Linked DNA regions of Homo sapiens: region 1 is linked to region 2. The links are contacts of gene promoters, found by promoter capture Hi-C in blood cells and fetal thymus (Javierre and others, 2016). All regions are on one chromosome and are shown on one strand. The core of a region is centred on a gene start or on the middle of the fragment in contact, and the rest is flanking DNA. Distances in the headings are between cores, read along the strand shown. Region 1 overlaps CS (citrate synthase). Region 2 holds the start of RNF41 (ring finger protein 41).

Region 1 (7,809 bases), core at 2,079-4,578, 72 kb after region 2:
CGCCAGAAGTATTTACATTTCTTGGGCCTCAGACTTACTGAATCCAAACAGTTTAGATATGGAGTTACCAAGGACCAAGTCCTAAATGAACGTTCTGCCACCTTCCCACTGTGTTATCTTGGCTATGTAACCTAATTTCTAAGTCTCAGTTTTTACATTTCTAAAATGGTAATAATAAAAGCCAATTTCAGAGTAGTTAAGTAAACTAAATAAAATAATTTTCATAAAAGCATCTAGAACAGTGCTTTGTGCATAGCTGAATTCAGTAAATATTTGTTTCTTACAAATGTGTTGGCCTATCACCTACCATCAAGTGTCAGAACTTCCTGGGAGTTGGATCCCAGGAAAGAGGCAGTCAAGCCTGAGGCAGAGGTGAATGGATAATTCCTTCCAGCTGTGGAATACAAAATAAAGTCCCAATTTTCTTTCTTTCTTTCTTTCTTTTTTTTTTTTAACAGGCATCAAGGAAAAGATACCAGTTTTCTTTTTAAGGGCTTCTTGACCAAGAAGGGAGGCATCTCAGGGAGAGGAAACAAATTTAACTAACCCTGATGGCCACCAGCAGAGCAAATGACTCTAGACAGGAGGTGCTTGAGGACTGTAACATCAAAGGCTACATTTCATTTCCTCTACCCCGTGGCTGCCAAAGAAAGCTGCTGAATGGCTCTGAACAGTACATTCAGGTTATGTTCATTGATGAGACAGGTAGATTACAAACCTCTGAATCATCCCTGAACTTCTACCTCCCAGATTCTCCCCTAATCCTGGAGGTGTGACAGTTGGGCTTTTGGCTTCTGGATGCATGCCACCTGTAGAGTCACCTTACTGGAACAGCAGCTCTCAGGAGAATCAGGCAGTCATCTCACTCAATAGGTCAGCTCCTTCATGGGGAGAGATGGAGAGGGCTACTTCCAAAGACAAGGGCCTGGCTCACAATGTCTGACAGCCAGTATTCTCTATAGGGTGGAGGTGGCGTTATCACAATCACGAAGAGGTTTTTCCCCCACAATCACTAAGAGCTCATTTGTTGCCACCCCTTACAAGAACTCCTCTAGTGAGTCAGCTATTATTGATAGAGGTGGGCTGTAGCCCTCAAATGTGGTAAGATGAAAAAATATAAAAATTAAAAGAGGCCAGGTATGGTGACTCACACCTTCCTTTGTTCTCCTCTGCCTTTGCCTCTTTAAAAAAGTTCTAAGTTGCAGCTGGGCACTGTGGCTCAAGCCTGTAATCCCAGCACTTTGGGAGGCCAAGGCAGGCAGATCACGGGGTCAGGAGATCAAGACCATCCTGGCTAACATGGTGAAACCCCGTCTCTATTAAAAAATACAAAAAATTAGCCAGGTGTGGTGGCAGGTGCCTGTAGTCCCAGCTACTCGGGAGGCTGAGGCAGGAGAAGCTCCGGGAGGCAAAGCCTGCAGCGAGCCGAGATTGTGCCACTGCACTCCAGCCTGGCTGACAGAGCAAGACTTGGTCTAAAAAAAAAAAAAAAAAAGTTCTAAGTTGCTAGCCAATCAGGACAAATACAAAATGTGAGGTCCCATTCCAGCCAATGGAAACTGGAACTGGACACAGCAGTAGGGTGGATGCATCAGGGTATAAATGACCCTGTCTCCTTTGCTCGGTGTACTCTCGTGGCAAAACTGCTGGCGTGTACCCTTTCTGCAGAAAGTATAAAAATGGCCTTGATGGCCTGGCGCGGTGGCTCACGCCTGTAATCCCAGCACTTTGGGAGGCCAAGGCAGGCGGATCATGATGTCAGGAGATCGAGACCATCCTGGCTAACAGGGTGAAACCCCATCTCTACTAAAAAAATACAAAAAAAAAAAAAAAAAAAAAAAATTAGCCGGGCGTCATGGCGGGCGCCTGTAGTCCCAGCTACTCAGGAGGCTGAGGCAGGAGAATGGCGTGAACCTGGGAGGCAGAGCTTGCAGTGAGCCGAGTTCGCACCACTGCACTCCAGCCTGGGCGACAGAGTGAGACTCTGTCTCAAAAAAAAAGGCCTTGCTGAGTAAATTAAATTAAATTAATTAAATTTATGTTCAAGTGCTATTTCTTTACAGCACCAGGGAACAAGCATTTCAAACAGGAGGCTGAGGCAGAAGAATCGCTTGAACCCAGGTGGCTGAAGCTGCAGTGAGCTGAGATTGTGCTACTGCACTCCAGCCTGGGCAACAGAGGAGACTCTGTCTCAAAAAACAAAACAAAACAAAAAAAGCCCACTTACTCAATATAGGTTATTTTCCTCTTACTCCTTAGCCTATTACCATCACTGTTCCACATCTAGCACCCTCACCCTACAGTCAAGAAGCCAAATTTTCTTTGATTCTCCATCCTAGGTACATCCAGACTCTCTCTGTCCTTCTGCATATCCAGGATATGTCCTACCACATATCCACATAACCAACATTAAAACCTTGGGGGAGGCTGGGCGCAGTGGCTCATGCCTATAATCCCAGCATTTCTGAATTAAAAAGCAAGACTCTGTCTCTACAAAAAATAATTTAAAAAATTAGAAAACAGGCTGGACACGGTGGCTCACGCCTGTAATCCCAACACCTTGGGAGGCCAAGGTGGGTGGATCACCTGATGTCAGGAGTTCAAGACCAGCCTGGCCAACATGGTGACACCCCATCTCTACTAAAAATACAAAAATTAGCCAGGCGTGGTGGCACATGCCTATAGTCCCAGCTACTCGGGAGGCTGAGGCAGAATCGCCTGGACCTGGGAGACGGAGGTTGCAGTGAGCTGAGATTGCGCCATTGCACTCCAGCCTGGGTGACAGAGCAAGACTCCGTCTCAAAATAATAATACTAAAAAAAATTAGAAAACAAAACAGAAAAACCTTGCGGAAGAAGCTCCTGATTTTAACAGGGACTTCGTCCTTCATCAACAAAAGATCAGAGCTTGCCAAGCCAGCAGGACTGGCTTAGCTGATGGAGCAAACACAATACACTAATAACCAGTAGGAAAAAATCCTGTACTACAGACACTTCCAATGCAGAAGGAACAACTTGCATTCAGAGAACACGAACACAAATAGGACAAAGGCTCCTCTCTCCCCAGAACCAGGTCAGAGAACTAAAGCCATTTAATGTGTGTGTTTCACAACGGTGATACTGGAAGTCGGTTTGGCACTACATGGTCAGGCCACTTAAAAGCCTGAGCAATCTACAGATTTCATACTTTGACCTCCTTCATACTTACAGACATTTCCTTAATAATTCTACCTAACTGTCATTTTCCAACAGTCTCTTCACGTGAATAGTCACCGATCACTGCTGGGTGCAGTGGCTCATGCCTGTAATCCCAGCACTTTGGGAGGCCAAGGTAGGCCGATCACCTGAGGTGAGGGGTTCAAGACCAGTCTGGCCAAGATGGTGAAACCCTGTCTCTACTAAAAATGCAAAAATTAGTCGGGCACGGTGGCGCACACCTGTAATCTCAGCTAACCGGGAAGCTGAGAAAGGACAATTGCTTGAACCCAGGAGGCAGAGGTTGCAGTGAGCCGAGATCATGCCACTGTACTCCAGCCTGGGCGACAGAGCAAGACTCTGTCTCAAAAAAAAAAAAAAAAAAAAAAAAGATGCACTGATCACTCAGTAAGGAGGACTGCAAAAGATACTCCTCCAGCTTCCATCTTCAGAAAGGAATCACAAGTCTATTTTTGTTTTTTGAGACAGAGTCTCTGTCACCCAGGCTGGAGTGCAGTGGTGCGATCTCGGCTCACTGAAACCTCCACCCCCTGGGTTCAAGCGATTCTCCTGCCTCAGCCTCCCGAGTAGCTGGGATTATAGGTGCCTGCCACCATGCCCAGCCAGGAATCACAAGTATTAAACTTTCCTTTCAGTAGGAACACTTACTGTTCTTTTGTTGAGACGAGTCTCACTCTATTGCCCAGGCTGGAGTGCAGTGGCATGATCTCAGCTCACAGCAACCTCTGCCACCCGGATTCAAGTGATTCTTGTGCCTCAGCTTCCCTAGTAGCTGGGATTACAGGCAGCTGCCACGATTGGCTGATTTTTGTATTTTTAGTAGAGACAGGGTTTCACCATGTTGGCCAGGCTGGTCTCGAACTCCTGACCTCAAGTGATCTGCCCACCTCAGTCTCCCAAAGGGCTGGGATTACAGGCGTGAGCCACTGTGCCTGGCCAACACTTATTGTACTTTAATTTAATGAACTTTTTTTTTTTTTTTAAGAGACAAGGTCTTGCTATGTTGCCAGGCTGATCTCAAACTACTGGGCTCAAGTGATCCTCCTACCTCAGCCTCCCAAAGTGCTGGAATTATAGACATAAGCCATCATGCCTAGCTAATAAATATTTCTTGGCCGGGCACGGTGGCTCATGCCTGTAATCCCAGCATTTTGGGAGGCTGAGGCGGGTGGATCACGAGGTCAGGAGTTCAAGACCATCCTGGCCAACATGGTGAAACCCCATCTCTACTAAAAATACAAAAATTAGCCCGGCGTGGTGGCATGTGCCTGTAGTCCCAGCTACTAGGGAGGCTGAGGCAGGAGAATAGCTTGAACCCGGGAGGCAGAGGTTGCAGTGAGCCGAGATCACACCACTGCACTCCAGCCTGGGTGACAGAGCGAGACTCCATCTCAAGGAAAAAAAAAAAATTCTTGAACACCTACTTATTATGTGTACACTAAGTATATACTAGTGAATAAAGAATATAGGATCTGTCATCATAATACTTTCTCAGGAATTAGAAACTATTCCCTTACTTCTGCTAGAAGTTCGTAGAAGTTTTATGGCTGGGCGCGGCAGCTCACGCCTGTAATCCCAGCACTGTGGGAGGTGGAGGCGGGCGGATCACGAGGTCAGGAGATCGAGACCATCCTGGCTAACACGGTGAAACCCTGTCTCTACTAAAAATACAAAAAATTAGCGGGGCGAGGTGGTGGGCGCCTACAGTCCCAGCTACTCAGGAGGCTGAGGCAGGAGAATGGCGTGAACCCCAGAGGCGGATCTTGCAGTGAGCCGGGATCGAGCCACCGCACTCTAGCCTAGGCGACAGAGCGAAACTGTCTCAAAAAAAAAAAAAAAAAAAAAAAAAAAAAAGAAGTTCTTACAAGTTTTAACTCCCTGACACTTTAGGGATTTACAAGAAACTTTTCCAGATCCCATCCTACTTTGCAGAATTGTAATCTGAAGGTAGGATCCAGGAAACTGCAACATAAGCAAGCATTACAGGTGACAATGCCCACTGTGAGTTTACAGACCTTTTAAAATAGCATCATGTTAAAAGAAATACAGAGGGCTGGGTGCAGTGGCTCACGCCTGTAATCTCAGCACTTTGGGAAGCTGAGACTGGTGGATTGCTTGAGCCCAGGAGTTCGAAACCAGCCTGGACAACATGGCAAAACACTGTCTCCAAAAAAACTACAAAAAAATTAGCCAGGCGTGGCTGTGCGTGCCTGTGGTCCCAGCTACTCGGGGGGATTGCTTGGGCCCATGAGGTTGAGGCTGTAGTAATAGCAAGCCATGTTCGCACCACTGCACTCCAGCCCCACCCCCCAAAAAAAACCCAAAACAGAGAACTAAGGAACTTGTGCAGTTGAAGCACAGTTGAAGCCAGAACTGAAAGATAATCAGATGCTAAGAAAGATCTATTGCTACAGTTGCCTCATTACGGTTTTAAATTTCACATCCTACTCTGTTGCATAAAGTATTGACACAGGGCAGAAAGAATCATTGTGTGGCTTTATTGAAATCCACCAAGTCTGGTTTCCCTTCTGCTGCCCCTTGGATTTTAAGTCAGGAATGCCAACTCTATCGCTGCTACCTACCATACTATTCTTGCTGCCTCCCCATGCATTCATTCACCTGCTACCAACCTAAAGGCCACTGGGAAGACCAAATGCAGTCATCTCACCACTAACACCCCATAAGGCTTCCCCTGCCATTCTAGTATCAAGGAATCACCGTTACTTTGGGTAGGCTGATAGTCAAAGTGAGGGCACAGAGATATGAGCCCTTACCTTTAAAAAATTTGGGCTTTAAAACCTAACTAAATATTTTGCAGGACAAAACCAACTCGGTTTTGTTGAACCCAATTTCTGAGTAGGACTTATACAGGTGATGTTGTACAGTGGTATAAGTCCAATGTAAAGAAACCATTGGTTCCTTTGCATTTAAGTGTCTTGAAAAAGTCTAGAAGTAATCTAGAAACATCTTTGAATTGATTTACTCAGTTTCAAACATACTAGCTTGGAGAAGCAATTTTCAGTGGCTCAAGAGACAGTTCCCTTTAGCTAGGGTTGGTTAAGCATGTTGACTTCAAAAGTCCAGAAGTGAACTGCAGCCCTACTTCAATTCCTAGCCCAAATCCAAACCCAGATCATCTGTGAAAAGACATTTTTGATGTCACAAAACTGAGTCACCCACAGATAATACTAAGGCCATTGCTTAGCATTAATGAATTTGGATAAACAAGAAGTCAAATAATCTCAAAGCTCTCTGAATTAGCTTCTAACTCAGGTGTTTTAAATTATGTGACATTTAAATTATGTGACAGTGAGAGTAGAACAATAGAACAATGACTAATTCACATGTTGTCTCCTAGTAAGGTTAAAAAAATTCGCCAGTCTGGCCAATATGGTGAAACCCCGTCTCTACCAAAAATACAAAAAATTAGCTGGGCGTGGTGGTGCACACCTGCTAACCCCAGCTACTCAGGAGGCTGAGTCACGAGAATCGCTTGAGCCTGGGAGGCAGAGGTTACAGTGAGCGGAGATTACGCCACTGCACTCCAGCCTGAGTGACAGAGTAAGACTCTGTCTCAAAACAAAAAAAAATTTCTTCTCAGAAAAGTAAAACTACACCTGACGCTGAGACTCAAAGTGGTAAGAGTCAGTTCTCCCTGGTAGGAAATTACTGCCTCCCAAAGTCTACCTTACTAGCAAAAGTAAAATTACCAATTATGACTAGCATTATCCACAGGCTAATCTAGAAAGCACAGGCAGGTGCTAGCAATGCTGACAAGCCAACAAGCTTCTTGGTACCCTGGTCATATTGCTTATTTCTCAGGAGATTTCCAGTCCAATAAACTCATTATTGGGCTTTGCTACCCCCCCCGCCCTTTTTTTTCTCTTTGAAACGGAGTTTCGCTCTTGTTGCCCAGGCTGGAGTGCAATGGAGCGATCTGGGCTCACCACAACATCCGCCTCCTGGGTTTGAGCGATCCTCCTGCCTCAGCCTCCCAAGTAGCTATGATTACAGGCATGTGCCACCATGTCTGGCTAATTTTGTATTTTTCGTAGAGATGAGGTTTCTCCATGTTGGTCAGGCTGGTCTCAAATTCCCGACCTCAGGTGATCCACCCGCCTCTGCCTCCCAAAGTGCTGAGATTACAGGTGTGAGCCACTGCACCTGACCTACTTTTAAGGGTCAAAAGCCTTCTAATGGCTTTCAACTGATAGGTGACTAGGATCGTCAGGCCATCTCTAACAGGAAAATAATGGTACCATAATTATGTAGCTCTGTCATCCCAAAAGTGTTCTGAGCTTCCCTATGGGCTTAAGGAGGAAAATAAATTCAATAGGTAAATCCCAAGGCTTTTTCACATTCACTGCAGGGTTAGACTATCTGGTCTGGGTTAGCAGCTCAGAAATGAGCTAATTATAGTGTCCCCCATTCTGCCAAAACGCTATCTAGAACTTGCTTCATTTCCCAAGAGGTTTCCTTACCCTTTTCCCCAGCAGCAGGAGAAGCAACAGCCAAGTAAGACAAGCATCTCCCAAATGCTCAGCTAGTACTTGCCACTGGGTGCCTGGAAGAACCAAGGTAAATCTTACAAATT
Region 2 (7,525 bases), core at 3,607-6,106:
GGAGCTGCAGCTTGCAGTGAGCCGAGACCGCGCCACCGCACTCCAGCCTGGGCGACACAGCAAGACTCCGTCTTAAAAAAAAAAAAAAAAAAGACAAGAGGAAAAGTAGAGGAGTTGTTGGAGATTTAAGATTCTTTTATTCAGTGCACATAACTACCAGTAATAATGATTCCAAATCTGTGACTACAAAATGCATAGATCCAGGTTGCGATGGCTCACGCCTGTGATCCCAGCACTTTGGGAGGCCGAGGCGGGTGGATCACCTGAGGTCAGGAGTCGGAGATGAGCCTGGCCAACATGGCGAAACCCCATCTCTACTAAAAATATAAAAATTAGCCGGGTATGGTGGCAGATGCCTGTAATCCCAGCTACTCAGGAGGCTGAGGCAGGGAGAATTGCTTGAACCCAGGAGGCGGAGGTTGCAGTGAGCCAAGATCGCGCCACTGCACTCCAGCCTAGGCGACAGAGCAAGACTCTGACTCAAAAAAAAAGCAAAATGCATAGATCCATAATACATTATGTGTACAGGATGATGCTTTAATGCAGAGGTCCCCAAATCCCCAGATGGACCAGTACCAGACTGTGGCCTATCAGGAACCGGGTCGTACAGCAGGAGGTGAGCAGGAAACAAGCGAGCATTAAGGCCTGTGCTCCATGTCCTGTCAGATCAGCAGCGGCATTTGATTCTCATTGGAGCATGAACCCTATTGTGAACTGCCCATGCGAGGGATCTAGGTTGCCCACTCCCTATGAGAATCTAATGCCTGATGATCTGAGGTGGTAGAGTTCCATCACAAAACCATCCCCTCGCCCACCATCTGTGGAAAAACTATCTTCCACAAAAAGGCTGGGGATGCTGCTTTAATGTTTCCAAAGTGCTTTCACATAAATTATTATTATTATTTCGAGATAGAGTCTCGCTCTGTCACCTAGGCTAGAGTGCAATGGCGCGATCTTGGCTCACTGAAGCCTTGGCCTCCCGAGTTCAAGTGATTCTCCTACCTCAGCCTCCAGAGTAGCTAGGATTACAGGCACCCACCACCATGCCCGGCTAATTTTTGTATTTTTAGTAGAGACGGGGTTTCACCATGTTGGCCAGGCTGGTCTCGAACTCCTGACCTCAGGTGATCCACCCGCCTCAGCCTCCCAAAATGCTGGGATTACAAGTGTGAGCCACCGCGCCTGGCCCACATAAATTATTATTATTTTTTTGAGATAGGGTCTTGCTCTATTGCCCAGGCTGGAGTACAGTGGCATGATCATAGCTCACTACAGCCTCGCCTTCCCAGCAGGCTCCAGCAATCCTCCCACCTCAGTCTCCCAAATAGCTGGGACCACAGGCACACACCACCATGCCTGGCTAATTTTTGTATTTTTGGTAGAGATGGGGTTTTGCCATGTTGCCCAGGCTGGTCTTGAACTCCTGGGCAGGCTCCAGCAATCCTCCCACCTCAGCCTCCCGAAGTGCTGGGATTACAGGCACCAGCCACTGCGCCCACCCCCAAATCTACACATTTAAACAAGTCAAGTAACCCTGCTGTAGTTTTTCTGTTGCTTCAACTGTCAAGTAGGGAAAATGATACCTGCCTTATATATTAATATAAGGTATATATAATATATACATATTTATTATATATATATATGTTATTTTTTTTTTGAGACAAAGTGTTGCTCTGTCGCCAGGCTGGAGTACAGTGGCACGATCTTGGCTCACTGCAACCTCTGCCTCCCGGGTTCAAGCGATTCTCCTGCCTCATCCTCCCAAGTAGCTGGGACTACAGGCATGTGCCACCATGCTGAGCTAATTTTTGTATTTTTAGTAGAGACGGGGTTTCACCATGTTGGCCAGGATGGTCTCAATCTCCTGACCTTGTGATCCGCCCGCCTCGGCCTCCCAAAGTGCTGGGATTATAGGCGTGAGCCACCATGCTTGGCCTATTTTTCTTTTTTTTTTTGAGATGGAGTCTTCCTCTGTCGCTCAGGATGGAGTGCAGTGATGCAATCTCCTCAGCTCACTCCAACCTCCACTTCCCAGGTTCAAACAATTCTCCTGCCTCAGCCTCCTGAGTAGCTGGGATCACAGGCATGTGTCACCATGCCAGGCTAATTTTTATTTTATTTATTTATTTATTTATTTTTTTTTTGAGACGGAGTCTGGCTCTGTCACCCAGGCTGGAGTGCAGTGATGCGATCTCGGCTCACTACAAGTTCCGCCTCCCAGGTTCACACCATTCTCCTGCCCCAGCCTCCCAAGTAGCTGGGACTACAGGCGCCCGCCAGGACGCCCAGCTAATTTTTTTTTTTTATTTTTAGTAGAGACAGGGTTTCACCACGTTAGCCAGGATGATCTTGATCTCCTGACCTCGTGATCTGCCTGCCTCGGCCTCCCAAAGTGCTGGGATTACAGGCGTGAGCCACCGCGCCCAGCCAATTTTTATATTTTAGTAGAGACAGGGTTTCAACATGTTGGCCAGGCTGGTCTCAAACTGGCCTCATATGATCCACCACCTTTGGCCTCCCAAAGTGCTGGGATTACAGGCGTGAGCCACTGCGCCCGGCGTAATATAAGGTGTATATATGTGTGTGTGTGTATATATGTGTATATACACGCGCGCACCCCTTATACATACTGTCTGCAAATCAAATGAAATAATAAATACGAAAGGAGGCTGGACGCAGTGGCTCACACCCGTAATCCCAGCACTTTGGGAGGCCGAAGTGAGTGGATCACCTGAGTCCAAGAGTTTGAGACCAGCCTGGGCAACATAGTGAAACCTTGTCTCTACAAAAAATACAAAAATTAGCCGGGCATGATGGCGTGAGTGCCTGTAGTCCCGGCTACTGAGGAGGCTGAAGGGGGAAGGTCAACTGAGCCGAGGAGGCAGAGGTTGCAGTGAGCAGAGATCGCAGCACCGCACTCCGGCCTGGGTGACAGAGTGAGACCCTGTCTCAAAAATAAATAAATAAATAAATAAATAAATAAATAAATAAATATGAAAGGATACTGAATACTGTTATCCTCAAGTAAGATTATTTGTAGCAACAGAATACAAAATAAGGCTGGGTGCAGTGGCTCATGCCTGTAATCCTAGCACTTTGGGAAGCCGAGATGGACCAATCACCTGAGGTCAGGGTTTTGTTTTGTTTTTTTTGGCGGGGGGTGTGGGGAGACAGAGTCTCACTCTGTTGCCCAGGTTGGAGTTCAGTGGTGGAATCTCAGCTCACTGCAACCTCTGCCTCCTGGGTTCAAGCAATTCTCCTGCCTCAGCTTCCCAAGTAGCTGGGACTACAGGTGCATGCAGCCATGCCCCGGCTAATTTTTTATATTTTTAGTAGAGACGGGGTTTCACTGTGTTGCCCAGGCTGGTCTCGAACTTTTGAGCTCAGGCAATCCGCCCGCCTCGTCCTCCCAAAGTGCTAGGATTACAGGCGTGAGCCACCGCGCCCGGCTACAGTCAGAGGTTTGAGACCAGCCTGGCCAACATGGTGAAACCCCATCTCAACTAAAAATACAAAAAATTAGCCAGGCATGGTGGCAGGTACCTGTAATCCCAGCTATTCAAGAGGCTGAGGCAGGAGAATCGCTTGAACCCAGAAAGAGGTGGCACTGAGCCGAGATTGTGCCACTGCACTCCAGCGTGGGTGACAGAGTGAGACTCCGTTTCAAAAAAAAAAAAAAACAAGAATGCAAAATAAATTTAGAGTACTGAGAGTCGGAGAGGAAATGCTTGACAAAAGCTTGTTCCTTCTTTTTACTAGAAGGCAGGGCTAGCCACAGGTCGGTCGGCTTAACATTGCATCACTCACATTCCCTACCACTAGTCCACTACATTCTTATTTGGGGCAAAACTATCAGCCAACAACACTATCAGTCTCTTGCCCTATTGTCAGACTCTAAAACCCCTGTATAGAAAGGGATAACACTATCACGGGCCAGTCCCCAAGAACAGTGGCCTCAATAACAGCCCCACTTGCTATTAAATGAAATGAAGTTTCTGAACGGGGAAGCAGTCTGTCAATCCCTCAAGCAAAACGCCTTCACCCCTCCTGGCTTTCTGCTCTTCCTCTAGCCCCCTCCTCCCCACTACCCAATTTCCCAAAGTCCTGAGTTAGGGAAGGCCTTCCAGTGTGTGGTGTGTGAACCCTGCCAGAGAGCCAGGCTGCAAACCAAGCGCAGGGATGTGAAGAATGTGAGATTCCTTCATGGAGGGCTGGGAGGGGGTGAGGAGCGGGGAAGGAATGAGAGGACAAGGCTGCCAACGACAAGGCATGGGAGAGGAGCCAAGCTATGGCGCTTCGAGGGCGGGGGTTTAGGTTCCACCGCCCCTGCCCAGGCTGGCCCCCGGAATGCTCCCTTCCTCCCCTTCTGGCCCGTCAATCATTGCCCATTTAAACACCACGCTGTTCCCCCAGTTCTGCAGGTGCCGGTCCTCCAGCTAGCCCCGGCCCCCTCCCGCACTTCTCAAAGCTCCCCTATTCCAATGGACCTTCCCCAACAACCCGTTCTCCAGAGCCCCCTTCTCACCTCCCGACTCCTCGCCAGTGCTGCTCCCTTCTCACATTTTTATCTCTACCACCATCCCTCCTCCTGAACCCCAGTTATTTCAACCCCCCGCCCCAATACCCCTGGGACATCACCTCCTCCCCTCCCACACCCTCTTTTAGGTGGAAGATCGCGCAGGCGCAGTACGCACCGCCCTGGAAGCGGCCTGGAGTCTCCGCAACCTGACCCAGTCGGAGCTGAGGCCGCAGCGGCCACAGTACTGCCCTGGTGCCGGGTCCCAGCCTCTCCCGGGAAGGGAAGGGAAAGGGGAAGGAGGGGAAAGAAGACTCCTACCACTCGTCGCCGCCTCAGACGGATCCTTTGCCCCGCCCACCGCTGCTACGCAACCCGGCGGAAGCTCGTCACCAAACCCCGCCTCTTTGTTTAACTCAGCCCCTACACCAGCAGCCAGGAGCTGCCTACGAGGAGGGACGAAGGCTGGCCAGGCCTCCACTCTAGACAGGAAGTCTAGTCTAGAGTCTATATGGTCCCAGCCAGGACTATGTAGCCATTTAGGAGGGAGAACTCTATGTTCTTCCCGGCAAAAACGTGTGGGCCTGGCCGGCCACGCTTCGCTTTGGAGGGGTGCAGGTGACTTGTGTCTTAGAGCTGACGCAGATTGTTGCGAGATCATTGCGGAGAGGCAGGCCTGCAGCGTGACCTGCTGCGGGTCCGGCCCCTCTCCCTTTTCCAGAGCCCTGGTCAGCATCCCAGAGCTTCGTAACCCCTTGACTCCTGTCATGGGAATGGATATTGCAGTTAACAAGGCGGCCGCGGGGTGGGGAGTGAGGGAGTCTGACCGCAAAGCTTAGATCTGGGGTGCTCAACGGGTTGTCTGCCTCTCTCCCAGGCGCTCTCCTGCCGTATCCACGATGGCTCCCCGAACACTTGTGGAGTTCCCTGAAACACCTAAGAGGAAGGAAGGGAGAAAAAATTTCCCTCTTCCTGAGTTGGGGTTTGATTTCCTTAGCTTACAACACCGTGGTGTTGGGGATGTGGGCGGTAGAGAACGTGGGATCCAAGGGAAGTCAATGTGGAGCCTAAAGAGCTCCGTGAGCAGATAAGGGATTAATTAAGCAAACCAAGGCATTACAATCACATGACTTCCTAGACTAATCTGGTATTAAATAGTATGGTATTTATTGTGGACATTGGCTAAGCAAATGCTAATGCACATTAATACACACATACACACATATCTTTATGTAATTTGTTTATACACAACAATACAGAGCTAGCTACCTTTTGTGGACAATTTGACAGGTCCCAAAAGGAACTAAAGTTTCAGGCCTCCTTTCTGCTGTCTTCTAGCGGGACTCTGAGATAAGTAAGATAAGAGTAGTATGGCCGGGCGCGGTGGTTCATGCCTTTAATCCCAACACTTTGGGAGACCGAGGCTGGTGGATCACGAGGTCAGGAGTTTGAGCCCAGGCTGGCCAACGTGGTGAAACCCCGTCTCTACTAAAAATACAAAAAAAGTAGCCGGGCGTGGTGGCGGGCGCCTGTAATCCCAGCTACTCGGGAGGCTGAGACAGGAGAATCGCTTGAACCCGGGAGGCAGAGGTTGCATTGCAGTGAGCCGAGATCGCGCCACTGCACTCCAACCTGGGCGACAGAGCAAGACTCCTTTGCCGGGGTGGAGCGGTGGGGCGGGGCGGGGAAGAGTAGTATGGCCAGGTGCAGCGGCTCACGCCTGTAATCCTAGCACTTTGGGAGGACGAGGTGGGCGGATCCCTTGAGGTCATGAGTCCGAGACCAGCCTGGGAAACATGGCGAAACTGTCTCTACAAAAAAAATACAGAAATTAGCCGAGGGTGGTAGTGCGAACCTGTAGTACCAGCTACTACGGAGGCTGTGGTGGGAGGTTGCAGTAAGCCAAGATTGCACCACTACACTCCAGCCTGGGTTACACAGCGAGACCCTGTTTCAAAAAAAAAAAAAAAAGGGACTAACAATGTTTCTCTCTTTGTCGCAGGTTCCATTTCTTCCAAGAAGGGTGAGCCTGCCTTTTGTCTCTGGTGTAAATGCCACTTTTCCCAGAGACCTTGACCAAGCTGGGTAGTGCATTAAAGATGAGAACCCCAAATCAGGAACAAAGATAACGGTTAGAGCAATAAAAAGGGAGGAAACCGTGTGTGCCTACTGTGTGCAAGGCACTTTTTTAAATATAACTTCCGTTTTCTCGTAAGATGGAATTACATATTTTTTGTCTTTTTTTCCCTTTTTGTGGAGAATGGGGTCTCGTTATATTGCCCAGGCAGGTCTGGAACTCCTGGACTCATGCTATCCTCCAGCCTATGCCTCCCTACGTGCTGGGATTACAGGCGTGAGCCACCGCGCCTTGCGGAATTGGAATTACATATGTTTAAATAGTCGAGAAATGAAGTGAAGCATTGAGCCAGGATTCAAACTTTTGTCCGCCAGATTCCGAAGCCCTTGCTCCTTTTCCCATTGTGTCACTCTTTGGAAAGAAACGTCTTAGAACCTAAGTGCATTCTCCCTAGCCAAGTTAAGGAAAACTGGGGGCCCTGTGCGCCTTCTAGTGGTGGATTTTTCCCCCTACAGAGCCAACTATCTCCAAGGTTCCTTTAATACCTGAAATTCGCCCCCTTCGCGGCGCACGAGTCTCTGATCCCGATTGGCTGGGCAGGGCAGGCGGCGGGACGCAGGGCGCGCCCGGGCGGTGCTGATTGGCCGGAGGAGGCCAGCCGGGGGAAACTTCCGGGAATGTCCGCACTCCCGCGTTCCACGGGGCAGCATCCGGCGGCAGCGGAGCCTGTGGCTCCCCCTGCGGGCTGCTCAGCGGCGTGCACAGTCCTGCCGGCTGGCTTGGGTGGGTGGTGGGCTGCGGGTAGGGGAGGGGATGGACCGAGTCCCGGCTTGTCGGGATGAGGGTTCCGGAAGATCTGGCCAGTAAGATTCTACTCCCTGGCTGTGCACCGGGTTCCCTACCCCTGTCTACGTCGGCTCCGCCACTTCGCG

Evidence for each region. Contacts are between HindIII fragments. The CHiCAGO score rates a contact against its expected background, and 5 or more counts as called.
Region 1: a fragment that was not itself captured here is called in contact with the fragment with the promoter of RNF41 in region 2 in 1 of 17 cell types (erythroblasts); the score reaches 5.3 in erythroblasts.

The regions. Positions count from the first base shown.
Region 1 is chr12:56,290,913-56,298,721 of GRCh38, forward strand. All of the region lies in intron 1 of CS (citrate synthase), which reads right to left. Among named protein-coding and RNA genes, the nearest start is that of CS, 5.5 kb to the right of the region's middle. The HindIII fragment of the contact is 7,341 bases long and covers 1-6,999 here.
Region 2 is chr12:56,217,066-56,224,590 of GRCh38, forward strand. It overlaps RNF41 (ring finger protein 41), which reads right to left and starts at 4,857. Exons shown (of 7, transcript NM_005785.4): 1 at 4,695-4,857. It overlaps NABP2 (nucleic acid binding protein 2), which reads left to right and starts at 7,277. Exons shown (of 7, transcript NM_024068.4): 1 at 7,277-7,376. RefSeq lists enhancers at 4,779-4,828, 4,815-5,749, 5,049-5,268, 5,750-6,683, 6,100-6,394 and a silencer at 7,126-7,365. The HindIII fragment of the contact is 1,612 bases long and covers 3,737-5,348 here.